Linked DNA regions of Homo sapiens: region 1 is linked to region 2. Evidence: promoter capture Hi-C in human tissues and cell types (Jung and others, 2019). All regions are on one chromosome and are shown on one strand. The core of a region is centred on a gene start or on the middle of the fragment in contact, and the rest is flanking DNA. Distances in the headings are between cores, read along the strand shown. Region 1 has its middle 79 kb from the start of LAPTM4A-DT. Region 2 holds the start of MATN3 (matrilin 3).

Evidence for each region. Contacts are between HindIII fragments. The study calls those that stand out against the background at their distance.
Region 1: a contact is called between a fragment that was not itself captured here and the fragment with the promoter of MATN3 in region 2, in 2 of the 25 tissues and cell types used here (adrenal gland and mesenchymal stem cells).

What each region holds. Positions count from the first base shown.
Region 1 is chr2:20,128,318-20,134,617 of GRCh38, forward strand. No RefSeq gene overlaps it. Among named protein-coding and RNA genes, the nearest start is that of LAPTM4A-DT, 79 kb to the left of the region's middle. The HindIII fragment of the contact is 5,540 bases long and covers 1,359-6,300 here.
Region 2 is chr2:20,010,709-20,017,072 of GRCh38, forward strand. It overlaps MATN3 (matrilin 3), which reads right to left and starts at 1,960. Exons shown (of 8, transcript NM_002381.5): 1 at 1,701-1,960. The coding sequence starts at 1,923. RefSeq lists an enhancer at 1,064-1,676. The HindIII fragment of the contact is 8,921 bases long and covers 1-6,364 here.

The DNA.
Region 1 (6,300 bases), core at 2,879-5,378, 120 kb after region 2:
CTAGAAAAGGTGCATTTAATTTTTTTTATTTTTAAACATTTTTAATTATTTTTTATCTTTGAAGAGATGGGGTTTCACTATGTTGCCCAGGCTGGTTTCAAACTCCTGGCCTCAAATGATCCACACCCCCTCAGCTTCCCAAGGTGCTGCGATTATATGCATGAGCTACTGCGCCTGGCCAAAGGTATATTTTAATTTTTAACTGCCCTCCATCTAACATTTAGTTCTCAAAAACACATGTCTCAGCTTTAGAAAGCTTTCTCTCATCTACCAGCAGTGACCTCTGCCATGGTGTAAAGACCCAGGCCAGCAGAAAAGGAGGAAGACAATACTTCATTTTAAAATGCTTTTATTTTCCTCATCTTTTAAATATAAATATAAATTTAATAAATTAAAATATTTACTATTTATATAAATTTAAATTTATTTAATATGTATGTCATATTGTATATAAAATATATATTACAGATTTACATAGTTTATTCATATTTAAGTTTTAGATAAATTTAAATTTGAATATAAAATTGGACAGGGGAGCATGTGGCCTGGGGCTTTGGACAGAGTGTATCTGAGAATGGAGCTCGCACCAGGGAAATGGGGCTGAAAAATGGAGGGTAGGAAACCTGGCCCAGGTTTCTTCGTTTGAGTCCTGGATAAACCCTTGCCTGAAGTCCATCCTGGGGTTGTTCAGGTTCATAAGCCAATACATACTGTTTTTGCTTAAGCCAGTGTGGGTTGGGTTTTTTGTCTCTTGCCCAGGGAGGAGCCCTGACTGCCCCACACAGCTGGTGGGCAGCAGGGCTGCACTCATTGCAGGGCTGACTAGCTCCAGGGTCCATGCACTGAACCTCAGCCAGTCCCAGCCAGTCCCCGCGGAAAAGGAATTTATTGATGTGAGACCTGAACAATCAGGAGGAGATAACCAGGCAGACCAGAAGGGAGAGAAGATGCCCAGACAGAGAAAGAGACAGGTGAAACGGGTGGCATTCAGAGAGCTACAGGTGGTTCAGAGTGGCTGGAGATTGAGTGAAGGGTGCAGGGTGTGCACACACCAGGTGCTGTGGTTTGCAATCTTGATCTTTCTGATGAAGTGACCAGAGTTTCGCCTCTGCTGTGATCACAGGTGTGATTGAAGAGTCGGTTGGCAGTGTGCCCTGTGCCTCCCCACTCAGGGTTCAGTCCTCTGACTCCCGCCTCCTGTCTCCCTCACCTGTTGGCCCCAAAAGGGAGTCACTGTTGGAGGCCTGACATCAGACATGCCCCCTGGGCCGCACCTCGGGCTCCTGGGACTGCCAAGGGTGAGCAGCCTCTCCCTGGCCCCGCGAGGGAGAAGGCCAATGAGGAGAAAGGCCACGGGCATGCTAGAACCCCTCATGTGTGTGTGTGTGTGTGTGTGTGTGTGTGTGTCGTTGGTGTGAGTGTGCATGAATAGCTGTGCACACATAGGAAGTCAATTGTCCTTTCCCAGTTGAGCCGTTGGGAACATTCCCCAGAATTTACTCTTCCTCCAAAATCATTACCTTATCTCAGGTGGCCCTTTGGAGCCTTTGGCACCATAGCTGGGTGAGGCAGGAAGAAAAAAAACAAGGGCAGGGGAGAAGAGGAATTTGCCCTCTGCTGTGTTTCAGCTCTCAGGCAGGCTATGCCTTCCCGCATTGCCACTAGCTGGGTCCAGGCCATGTCACCTTCTGCTGCACCTACAGCAGCTCCCCAATGTCAGTGTGCCCCAGCCACTTCCCACCAGACCATCTTCCACAGCACGGATCCCCCCAAAATACTGCTCCCCTCTTCCTCCTGTCTCACTTGGACTGCCTTGGCTAGGGCAAATTCTTTGCTGTGACTTGGAAGGCCCTGTGTATCCCCTGCCTATCTGTCCAGCCTCATCTGTCCCCACTCCACCTCTCCCACCCCAGGCCCCAGGCACATTGGCCACAGCCCTTCCCTGAAAGCACCAGGGCCTGAGTATTAATTCCTGTTGTTGCTGCAGCAAACTACCACAGACTTACAGGTTCGAAACAACGCAGATGTATTATATTACAGTTCTGGAGGTCAGGAGTCCAGACATGGGTCTTAAAGGATGAAAGTCAAGGTGCCAGCAGGGCTGCATTCCTTCTGGAGGTTCCAAGAAAGAATCCATTGCCTTGCCTTTCCCAGCTTCAAAAAGCCTCCCGATTCCTTGGTTCATGCCCCCTCCCTGCATCTGCAAAGCCACTGAGTAGCATCTTCCAATCTCTTTCTGACCTCTTCTCCCATCGTCACATCTCTCTCTGACACTGACCTCTCTCTCCGCCTCCCTCTTAGAAGGGCCCTGGTGATTACCCAGGACCTGCGCAGATAATCCAGGATATGCGCTCCATCTCGAGGTCCTTCATCACATCCACAGGCCGATTCTCGGGGTCTAGAGATTAGGGCTTGTACTTCTTCGAGGGTCATTCTCCTGCCTGCCACAGAGCACACCAAGCTTTCGCACATGCAGGCCTCTCTGTCACTGTCTACATTTACCCAGAGGGGACACCTTTGTCTAATTTGCAGAGGTACCATACATAGGTCAGTGGACTGCCTGCCTGAAACACCCCTTTCCTCACTTTCTCCACCTGGCCAAGAGCTTCTCATTCTTCAAGGCCCAGTTTAGTCCAGGACACTTTACCTTTCCCTGCTCTCCCCGAAGTCTCCCAGCTGGGTGAGTCACACCTCCTCTGGGCTCCTGCTCTATCCCGTACTTTCTGTATCCTGGCATAAACCACAGGACATTGATATTGTCTGTGAGTCTGCCTGGGTCAGATCGGAGCCAGGGCCCAGAAGCCCTCACCTGGGGCCCAGCTCTTCCCCAGCTAGGCAGCAGCCCCAGGCCCTGTCGTCTCTCTTCCCAGCACAGACACCTCCTCTGGAGTCTCCCAGTTCATGTCTCTTTGTCTCTCCTGTGTGCAGGCCTCACACGGAGCTGCGGGGCCTCTGTGAGGAAGACAGAAATGAAGGCGATGAGGGTGTTGAGTTTGAGGCATCCAAGCCACACGGAGGGAAGCTGGCATTTGAGAAGAGAGGGCTGGCGTGAAATTCCTACTCTCAGGAAGTGGCTGGGGGACTTTCAGAAGAGGAATATTTGAGGTTTTCAAGTTAAAGTGGCAGCCTAAACACACATCTAATTGCATTTTTCCCCAAATCTCACTAGAACAATAATAGAGAACTTTAAAAGGAAGACATAAAACCACAAAAATGAGGGAAACAGAAGAGGAGAAAACAGGAGCAAAACATGGGAAGCTGGCAGATGAGCATTCTCCGACGCAGATGGAGAAAGCCAGTTCCTAGGCCAGCAGTGGGGAGAGTTTAGAATCAAAACCATTTACAAGCAGGATGCTTAGAAGTCTCAGGAACTGACTCTAGAGGGAACCTCTCTAAGCTGGGTAAAGAAGGAAGTTGAAATAAGGATGGGTTGAAAGTTGTTTAAGAAGCAGTCAGATGCCTGGAAACCCTCCTGTCCCCTCCCCTTCCCCACTGGAAAATTACTGTGAGTGGTTACTGCCCAGAAGGCAGGAAGATTCTGGGTCATATGCCTATGGAGACCCCACCCCGGACTCTGACTCTAAACACCCAAAACACAAGGCAGCCTTCCTCTCAAAGCAGGAGTTAGAACAATCTTCTCTAAATAGTCTGGGCAACTCAAAAGGAAGACTAAATCCTGATATGGGGGGATCTCTGACAAACGACACATCCAGACCACTCCCCCATGAAGTCAAAGGTTGGCAAGCCCCACCCTAGAAGACAGGAAAAGTGAATATGCTGAGAATAAAAGTAAAACACTCTTGGAAATGAAAAACATGGCAGCCACAGTAGAAGGTGTATTATGTCATCCTCACATTGCTATAAAGAAATACCTGAGACTGGGGAATTTATAAGAAAAGAGGTTTAATTGGCTCATGGTTCTGCAGGCTGTACAGGAAGCAGAGCTCCAGGATCTGCTTCCGGGGAGGCCTCAGGAAGCTTCCAATCATGGAGAAAGGTGAAGTGGGAGCAGCCATGTCATATGGCCAGAGCAGGAGCAAGAGCGAGAAGGGGGAGGTGCCACACACTTTTAAACAACAAGGTCTCAGGAGAACTCACTCACTGTCATGAGGACAGCACCAAGAGGATGGTGCTAAACCATTCAGGAGAAATCCACCCCCATAATCTAGTCACCTCCCACCAGGCCCCACCTCCAACATTGGAGATTACAATTCAACATGAGATTTGGGCAGAGACACAGACCCAAACCACATCAGAGGGTATGCAAGATAAAGTTGAAGAAATCTCCTAGAAATCAGGAAGAAAAAAAAAAAAAACAAGAGATGGAAAGTAGGAGAGAAGATTTAAAATATTGGAGGCTTAGCCCAGGAGATCTAATATGGAAATAACAGAAATTACAGAGAAAAAAGAGCCAGGCAAGGGATGAAAACAGGCCCATGCCAAGCATATCTTTGTGAAATTTCAGGCAGCTGGGGACAATGGAATTCCACAAGCTTTCAGATGGGGCAGAAAACAGGTGACATGCAAAAGATGAGGACTCGGAATGATTCTGATAACTCATCAGCAGCGCTGGGACACAAGAAGACAGCAAAGGCAAACCCAAAATGCTGGAGGGACACGCTCTCCAAGCCGACTCCTCTATCCAGCCAAATACTAATTATGTATGAGGCTAAAGACACTTTTAGTCGTGCGATATTGCAAGAAAATTTCCTCCCATGCAACATTTCTCAAGAAGCTACTGGAGAATGTGCTCCTCCAAACTGAGAGTTAACAGAAGGGAAGACACAGGACATAGGAAACGGCACAGCCAGCATGGAGAGGAGGCAAGGAGCAGTCCGTAGGAGGGTAGTGCAGGAGGACAGCACTGCACAAGACAGGGAGGGCAGCTGGTCCCCGAGGGGGTGGCACAATGCCAGCAAGAGGTACATCGAGGGCTGTCGCAGCGTCACTGCCACCGGACAGTCTTTCCAACCTGAGGACAGGAGGCTCCGGTGAGCCTGGCCCCAGTTTTGATTTGCCCTTGCCTTGTCTTGACCATGTGCTGTGCAGTCTGTGCCCACCCCTCCTTGCCTGCTGCCACCCCCACCTCAGTGTGATCTGCCCTGCTCCTGAGAACTGGATGTGGGCCATAGTGAGCTTAGAAGGAAAAAACACCAAACAGCTCCCTCCTCTTGCCAGGTGTCCGGTATCTGGCTCACATCACAGCCCTGCCCGATGCCTTAGTTATAGGGAGCCTGTGTTTCCCTAGGCTCACTCATGGTCTTGTCCAGTGATGTCCCCAGAAAGGACTTTTGTAAACTGTTAGAAAAAAAATTAGCCAGACGTGGTGGCACACACCTATAATCCTAGCTACTCAGGAGGCTAAGGTGTGAGGATCGCTTGAACCCGGGAGGTAGAGGGTGCAGTGAGCCAAGATCGCAACACTGCACTCCAGCCTGGGTGACAGAGTGACACTCCATTGAAAAAAAAAAAAAAGACTTCTTAGATATTAGTAATACCATATTTAATGGGCACACGGTGTTCCTTTTTGGAAGATTCATTCAGTTGTATCTGTTTTATACACTCTTCTGAATGTATGAAACATGTCACTGTAAAGACTGTTTACAGTGGGGCACATGGGAGGGTCCTGGAGCGCTGGCAATAGCCTATTTCTTCAGTTGGGTGACTGTTATATAGGTCTTTACTTTATAACGATTTGCTAAAGTGTACATTTATGTTTCATGCACTTTTCTGTGTGTGATATATCCTACAATAAAATCTTAAAAGAAAAAAGAGATGGTCTGCTGTGCTGTTTTGTGGTATCACTCACCCCACTTTCTGGCTCCCAGATTTCAACACTCAGCCTTTCATTGGTGTCCTTTAGGGAATAAAGGACCTCGGGTGTGTCTGGTGGAGGGCGACACTGTACAGAGAGCAAGAAGAGAACAAGCAGAAGCACAGCAAAGAAGAGAGAAGAGACCTGAATAAAACTCACTGTCCCCTAGACCCCCTGAAGACATGGGAAGGGAAAACATCTTGGGATCTTCACCTCATGTGTGATAGGGACCCAAGCCAATTCATGCAAATATTACAGAAAAGTGTAATCCCATAACATTGCAGAATTTAAAGCCACCCTAACGACTCAGATGTGGGTTATGCCCAAAGCAAGCAGGATGCTGGGTGTGGGCACGTTTATAAGTGCCCAGCTGGCTTAAAGGGTTAAGAACTGCCACTCTTTGCTAGGATTGCTTTTCCCATCCTTTCTGCCTGGTGAGTTTTTCTAAGAGTGGTAGGGCTTCACTCCAGCTAGTTTTCACAGAA
Region 2 (6,364 bases), core at 710-3,209:
GAACACAGCCCTGCCGACACCTTCATCTTAGCCCAGTGAGACCAGGGTCAGACTTCTGACCCACAGAACTCTCAGGTAATAAATGTGTGTTGTCTTAAGGCACTAAATTCACAGTAATTTGTTACAGTGGCCATAGAAAACTAATACCTGAGGCTTGACCATGGTGGCAGAAAATTCTGTGAACATCTGGTTCCTTCCTGACTGGTACTCCGCATCAATCATTAGTTGTTTTTGAATCTCACTCCCATTTACTAAATAGCAGCAATTTGATTCCCAAGAACAAAGAAAGAATCTGAATCTCCTAAAATGTTCCCATACTCATAATACCACTGAGTCCTTACAGTCCTGCTAGAAATAAAAATCCATAGCGAAGCTTAGCAATTTCTGGTTGCTAAAAGGAGATAATTTGGAACAGGGTGGAATCTCGCATTTATTAATGGGTTATCATTCATGATCAGGTTCGGACTCTAGGTAATGAAAGACCAGTAAAGCTTAGGGGGACATGGCCACCTGGTGCTGAATCTCTCCTTCCTCTTCCAGTCCCATCCCAGAGGGAGGCAGGTCAGGACTAGAGTAAGATTAACTTCCAGAAGAAAGGCTTTCCCTCAATTCCCGGCCTGGAGCAACCAGCCACCAGCTGAATCTAGCCCTGTGGACCCCGGTACCTCCTGCCTTAGCAGCAATGCTTTTGCCATTTCAAATCTGCCACTTCAAATACGGGGACTGAGTATTTGAGTCAGGAAAGAGTCCCTTGAGCTCCTTCTCAGCTTATCCAGAAAGATGCAGAAGGGGATAGACAATTGAAATCAGCCTGAGGCATGCAGCGTGGCTGGCCAAATGAGACTGCATACCCAGAAATGGCCTGGCACAGACTCTTTTTAGCAAGACTGAAGCTGCGCTTTTTGGAAATGAAGATACAATCTTATGTAAACCATATTAAGAGGTTGGTAGGCTGGGGCAGTGGAAAGAGACCTTGCTTGGGATTTCGGAGCCCTGAATTTTATTGTGGCCTCTGATACTGATTCACAGAGTCCCTTCAACTTGATATGCCTCAGTTTCCCTTCATGTGCTGTCAGGGGCTGTGTCAGACGACCTGCCCGCTTCGCTGCACTATGAGCTTTGCTCTGCTTCAGGAATCAATTGCTGACCAAAAAGAGAAATAGAATTGTTCGCCAAAGACCCAGAGTGTCTTGATCCTGGGGTATCCTACGGCTCCTCGGATCTCCTCCTGGTCTCACACCCGCATCCCTTACCTTCCAGTCTGAGGCAGCCTGAGGACTGTGGGAGGGGAGGAAAGATCACGCCCTGATATTGGATGGAGATGGAGAGATTCCAAGAGAACTAACAGCAGAGTCTCAGGAAGGGTTTGCTCACTGAATGGAGAGGTCAGGACTGGGACGGAGCTTAGCAGCAGCCGCTGGGCAGCAGCCCCTGCGCTCCCCAGCTGCCCTGTGCTCCTGGCCGAATCACAGGGGAGTGAGAGCTTCAGGAGACCCACATCTCTAGCCTGGACACATGAGTGATATTGGGCATCTCCCTCCCCTTCTCTGGACCTCAGTTTCCCCCACAGGATTCATCCGGGAGGGGCCTCTTTCCCCCGCACCACGGTCGGCCTGAGGCCGGGATGAAGCGCGCTTGGTGGATGCCCTGGGCTTCTCCTCGTTCGATGCTCACGCGTCCCTCCCGCCGCCCGCCTGTACCTGCACCGCGGGCGCGGCCAGGCTCGCTGGTCCCGGAAGCGGGCGCGCCGTCGGGAGCCGCAGGAGAGGGGCGGCGTCCAGGGCTGCCCCCGGGACCTCGGGTCTCCAGCCTCCGGAAGCCCGGGCGGGCCACGGGGTCGGGGGCGGCGGAGGGCAGCAGCAGCAGCGGCCAGAGCAGCAGGAGGAGTCCCGGGAGGCGGCGCGCGGGGGCCGGGCGCGGCATGGTGGGCTCCGTGGGCCTGGTGGTGTCCGTCGGGGGCCAGGAGCCCACGCGAGGCTCGGATTTAAAGGTCCCGCGGCCTCGGGCCCCGCCCCGCCCCGGGGCCTCGAGCGCCAGGCCGGCCCGGCGAACCCCGCCCAAGGCCAACAAGGAGCCTTGTCCGCGCATTCCAGCGGCAGAAACGGAATGTCTGGGCGAGGCGGCCAGCGGCGCGGTGGTCACCTCCCGCCCCTGCCCTAAGCCCCGAGCCGGCTGCAACTGGGTGGGCTCGGCTGCTGTCGCAACCTCCGTCCTCCCAGTAACACCGGGGCAGGGGGGGCAGCCATCCGCGGCTGCAGCCTGCCCGGCCCTCCACTCTCCCTCCCACCCCAGCGGGGCCTGCGCCCCAGGTACGGGATGGGGACCCCTGGGCTCTGCTTTCCCTTCTGCCACTGGTTTGCCCGACTGGGGCTGAAGATGAAACCCTGCTCCTAGCTCTACATTCCTTTCCTCAGCCAAGTAACCCAAGTTTTGCTGTGGGCTCTTGTTTAAAAAAAAAAAAAGAAAGAAAAGGCCTCACAGATTCTAGGGGCATGAATAGAAACGCTTTCATCCGAGCTTCAAATATCCACAAACATTTGAACTTATATTACCGGGAATAGAAAGTCAAACATACATTCCCCAGAGAGCCCCGTTAGCTGGAAGGACAGCCTGTACCAACACAGGCTTCAAAGGCTCTCCCGAGGCCCCATTTCCTCTCCGGAAGAGTTAGCATGGTACAGGGCTGGAGGCTGCCAGGGGACCCCCATGGAACTCACTGTCTGTGAGAAGGAGATTTGCATAAATGTGGTGTCTGTCTACGGGAATGTGGTGGATTTAGGAAAGAGATACTGACTGCCTGCGGAGACCAGGAAGACTTCTAAAACCAGGTGACATTTGAGCTGCGTCTTAAAACAATGGGCGCGAGTTCCAACAGAGCCTATCTGGTCGTCCTATTTCACTATTTTCCCTCTACAAGTGATCCTCCTCACACGATCCTAAACCTCACTTCTCATATTTGTACCCCATGCTGGTAGCAGCATTATACACAATAGCCAAGAGGCGGAAACAACCCAAGTGTCTCTCTTTGTGTGAATGGAAAAGCAAAATGCAGTATCTACGTACAATGGAATACTGTTCAGCCTTAAAAGGGAGGAAATTTTGGCAGATGCTACAAAATGGATGAACCTTGAGAGTATTATGTTAAGTGAAATAAGCTAGTCACAAAAAGACAAATACTGTATGATTCCATTTACATGGGGAATCTAGAGTAGTCAAATTCATAGAGACAGAAAGAATGGTGGTTAACAGGAGCTGAGGGGAAGTGGGGATGGGGAGTTGTATAATGTATCAATGACATTGGGCAGTGATAGTCACACTGAGGGAAAAGGTCACTCAACTCCCACTGAGAACTCACCAATTTAGAAGGACCTTAGAAGAAACGAGAAGTTTGTAATAATGGGAAGAGGACACTAAGAAGTTTGAAAGAAACTATGCCAAGAAGAGGAGGGATTGATAAATACAGTATTTGCAAGCTCTGGTGGACATTTGTCTTTCGTCTTGCTTTTAGAATGATCCCCAAAGCCTTTGAACCCTACATTAGTCAGGGTTCTTGAGAGAAACAAAACCAATAAATTTTATATACACATACATATAGAGAGAGGGTGGGGGGAGTAATTGAGATTATGAGGGATTGGTTCATGCGATTATGAAGGCTGAGAAGTCCCACAGTCTGCTGTCTGCAAGCTGGGGGCCCAGGAAAGCCAGTGGTGTAATCCAGTCCAAGCCTGAAGGCCCAAGAGCAGGAGAGCCAATGACATAAGGCCCAATCTGAGTCCAGAGACCCAAGAACCAGGAATGCTGATGTCCAAGGACAGGAGAAGCTGGTTGGCCCAGCTCCAGCAGAGAACACATTTGCCTTCCACTGTCTTTTTGCTCCATTCAAGCCCTCAACAGATTGGATGATGCCCACTCCACTCACATAGATGAAGGTGATCTTCTTTGCTCAGTCTACCGATTCAAATGCTAATCTCTTCCAGAAACATCCTCACAGACACACCCAGAAATAATATTTAATAGCTATCTGGGCATCCATTAGCCCAGTCAAGATGACACATTAAAATTCACCATCACAAATACCTTCCTAAATTTAGGGATTTCCAACTTCATGAGTCAGCACCTCCCCAAGTTGACTCCAAGAACTTGCTTCCCCAGCATCTCTTGCAGCTAGGATGTACATAAGTGGCCCAGTCTTCATCGATCATATGTGGTGTCTATGCCAAGCAGCAGTGACTCTAGGTCTCCCATATAGCAAACCTGCAGTATAATTTTGGGAATGGTTGATGACTGTGTGGCTTCCAAGCTTGATTCTTGAACCTTTCCAGAAATTATTTGAACCACTTAATATCCAGGGCTACATATGGATGGTGTAGGTGTACATTGCACAAGTTCACAGGGGCACTATTCACATTCGTAGTCAACACATATTGATTATAACATTTGGAATTCCACTTCAACTGGGGAGTGATGTTTCTTGAGGAATGGTTGGCTTTTCCATTTGTACTTTGAGCTAGTAGTGGGACAAATAATACCCTTAATATATACTTTTTCTGTTTCTTTATTATTATTATTATAAACAGGGTCTCATTCTGTCACCCAGGCTGGAGTGCAATGGTGTCATCAGAGCTCACTGCAACCTCAACTTTCTGGGCTCAAGCAATCCTCCAGGTTCAAGCAATCCTCCTGCCTCAGCCTCCCGAGTTGCTGGGACCACAGGTGTGCACCACCACGCCCAACTAATTTTTTTTTATTCTTTATAGAGACAGGGTCTAATTATGTTGCCCAGGCTGATCTTGAACTCCTGGGCTCAAGTGATCCTCCCACCTCAGCTTGCCAAAGTGCTAGGATTATACATGTGAGCCACCATGCTTAGCCTCTTTTTCAGCTCATTCTAGCAGGAATGGGTTCTGTTTGCACCAACAATGTGGATATATTAATCTTGTGATTTTTTTTTTCTATTGCATACCACTGGGGGGCACTGTTTTAAAGAGCTCAAAATAAAAATCTCAGCTCCCTGGTGAATGTCCCTACACATTCGTTGTCAGTATCTCAGACAATTTCAGATGCTGGTGTATGAAAGTCATGCCATCTTGAATGAAATAGAAATTGTCTGATAAGTTTGTATCTCCAGAGTTCACACTCCAGGGCGGTTGTCTTACATCTGATGTCCAAAGATTGTCAAATAAAACAAAGGTAGCTCTTCTGACAGAGGAATTCAGGTGGCTGTAGGGCCTTCTTGCATGTCACCAACTCAACTGGCTGCTGGACCAGGTGGTAACTTTGCTTTCAGGTGTTTACTTGGGAATATTGCAAAAGCTATATTTCTCTACCACTGCATATTATCTTATACTACTTTGTCAAGATAAAGACTAGAATAACTTTTTGATAACCTAAAGACTTAGGTCATAAAAAAGCCAAACAGAGGTTTTTTGAACTATTCAAAAATCTAAGAAATACAACAAAGATTTATATATACACTTTACATTGTTTTTAGAATTTTATTATTTTTAAAGTAGGTAATACATGCACTTGGTCTAAACTTTGAAAAGAAAAAAGAAACCGACCAAATGTTAGGATTACTTTCAACTTTGCATTACTTCTTACAAGCAATAAATTCAACATCTTGGGAGAATTATTTTTCTCACAACTAGGATTTCAGCAGTAGAATAAGACTTGCAAGCTACTTAAGGAACCACTTGTCTCCTGCTTTGCTGCCCTTAATGTGTGGATTTTGTTCCCAAGGCTGCTGGAACTCCAAGTATCATGTTGGCATTCCAGGATGAAGGAAGAGGGAAGACCAAAGGCCAAAGAGCAAAGGACCAAAAGATATTTGCTGCTGACATCTCATGGCCACACCTGGCCACAAGGGGGTCTTGAAAGGTAAGTTCTTAGCTTTTTTGATCCACAGTGAAGAAGGCAAAGGAAAACATGCATTGGAATGGGAGTTGACAGCTAACCTGTGGCATATACTACAGGTATATGGTGAAAAGGAACTATCCCAACCACCCTTGCCAATAACACCACTGTTGCCAATGTCTTGAATGTGCATAGACTTGTAGGTGTAAACATTGAAAAATACGTGTGCAGACATCCACTGTTCTATTGAAAGAAGACATATGTTTCCAACTTTAGACCAAAAAATCTACCCCCAAACAAGTTGAAAAGTCCTTTGATTCCATGGATGCATTGGAGAAAATGTTGTCAAAAGATGTCCCAAGACTTCTTAAATCTGATAAATGACAGACCATGTACTTGGAGAAAAAAATTTGTTTTCTTTTGTGTTCAAAACTGTCTCAATCCCAAGGTGGAAGTCTTTTCCAGAAAGTATAGAACTCTTTACCTATGTTTTTTGCAATTTACCCACCTG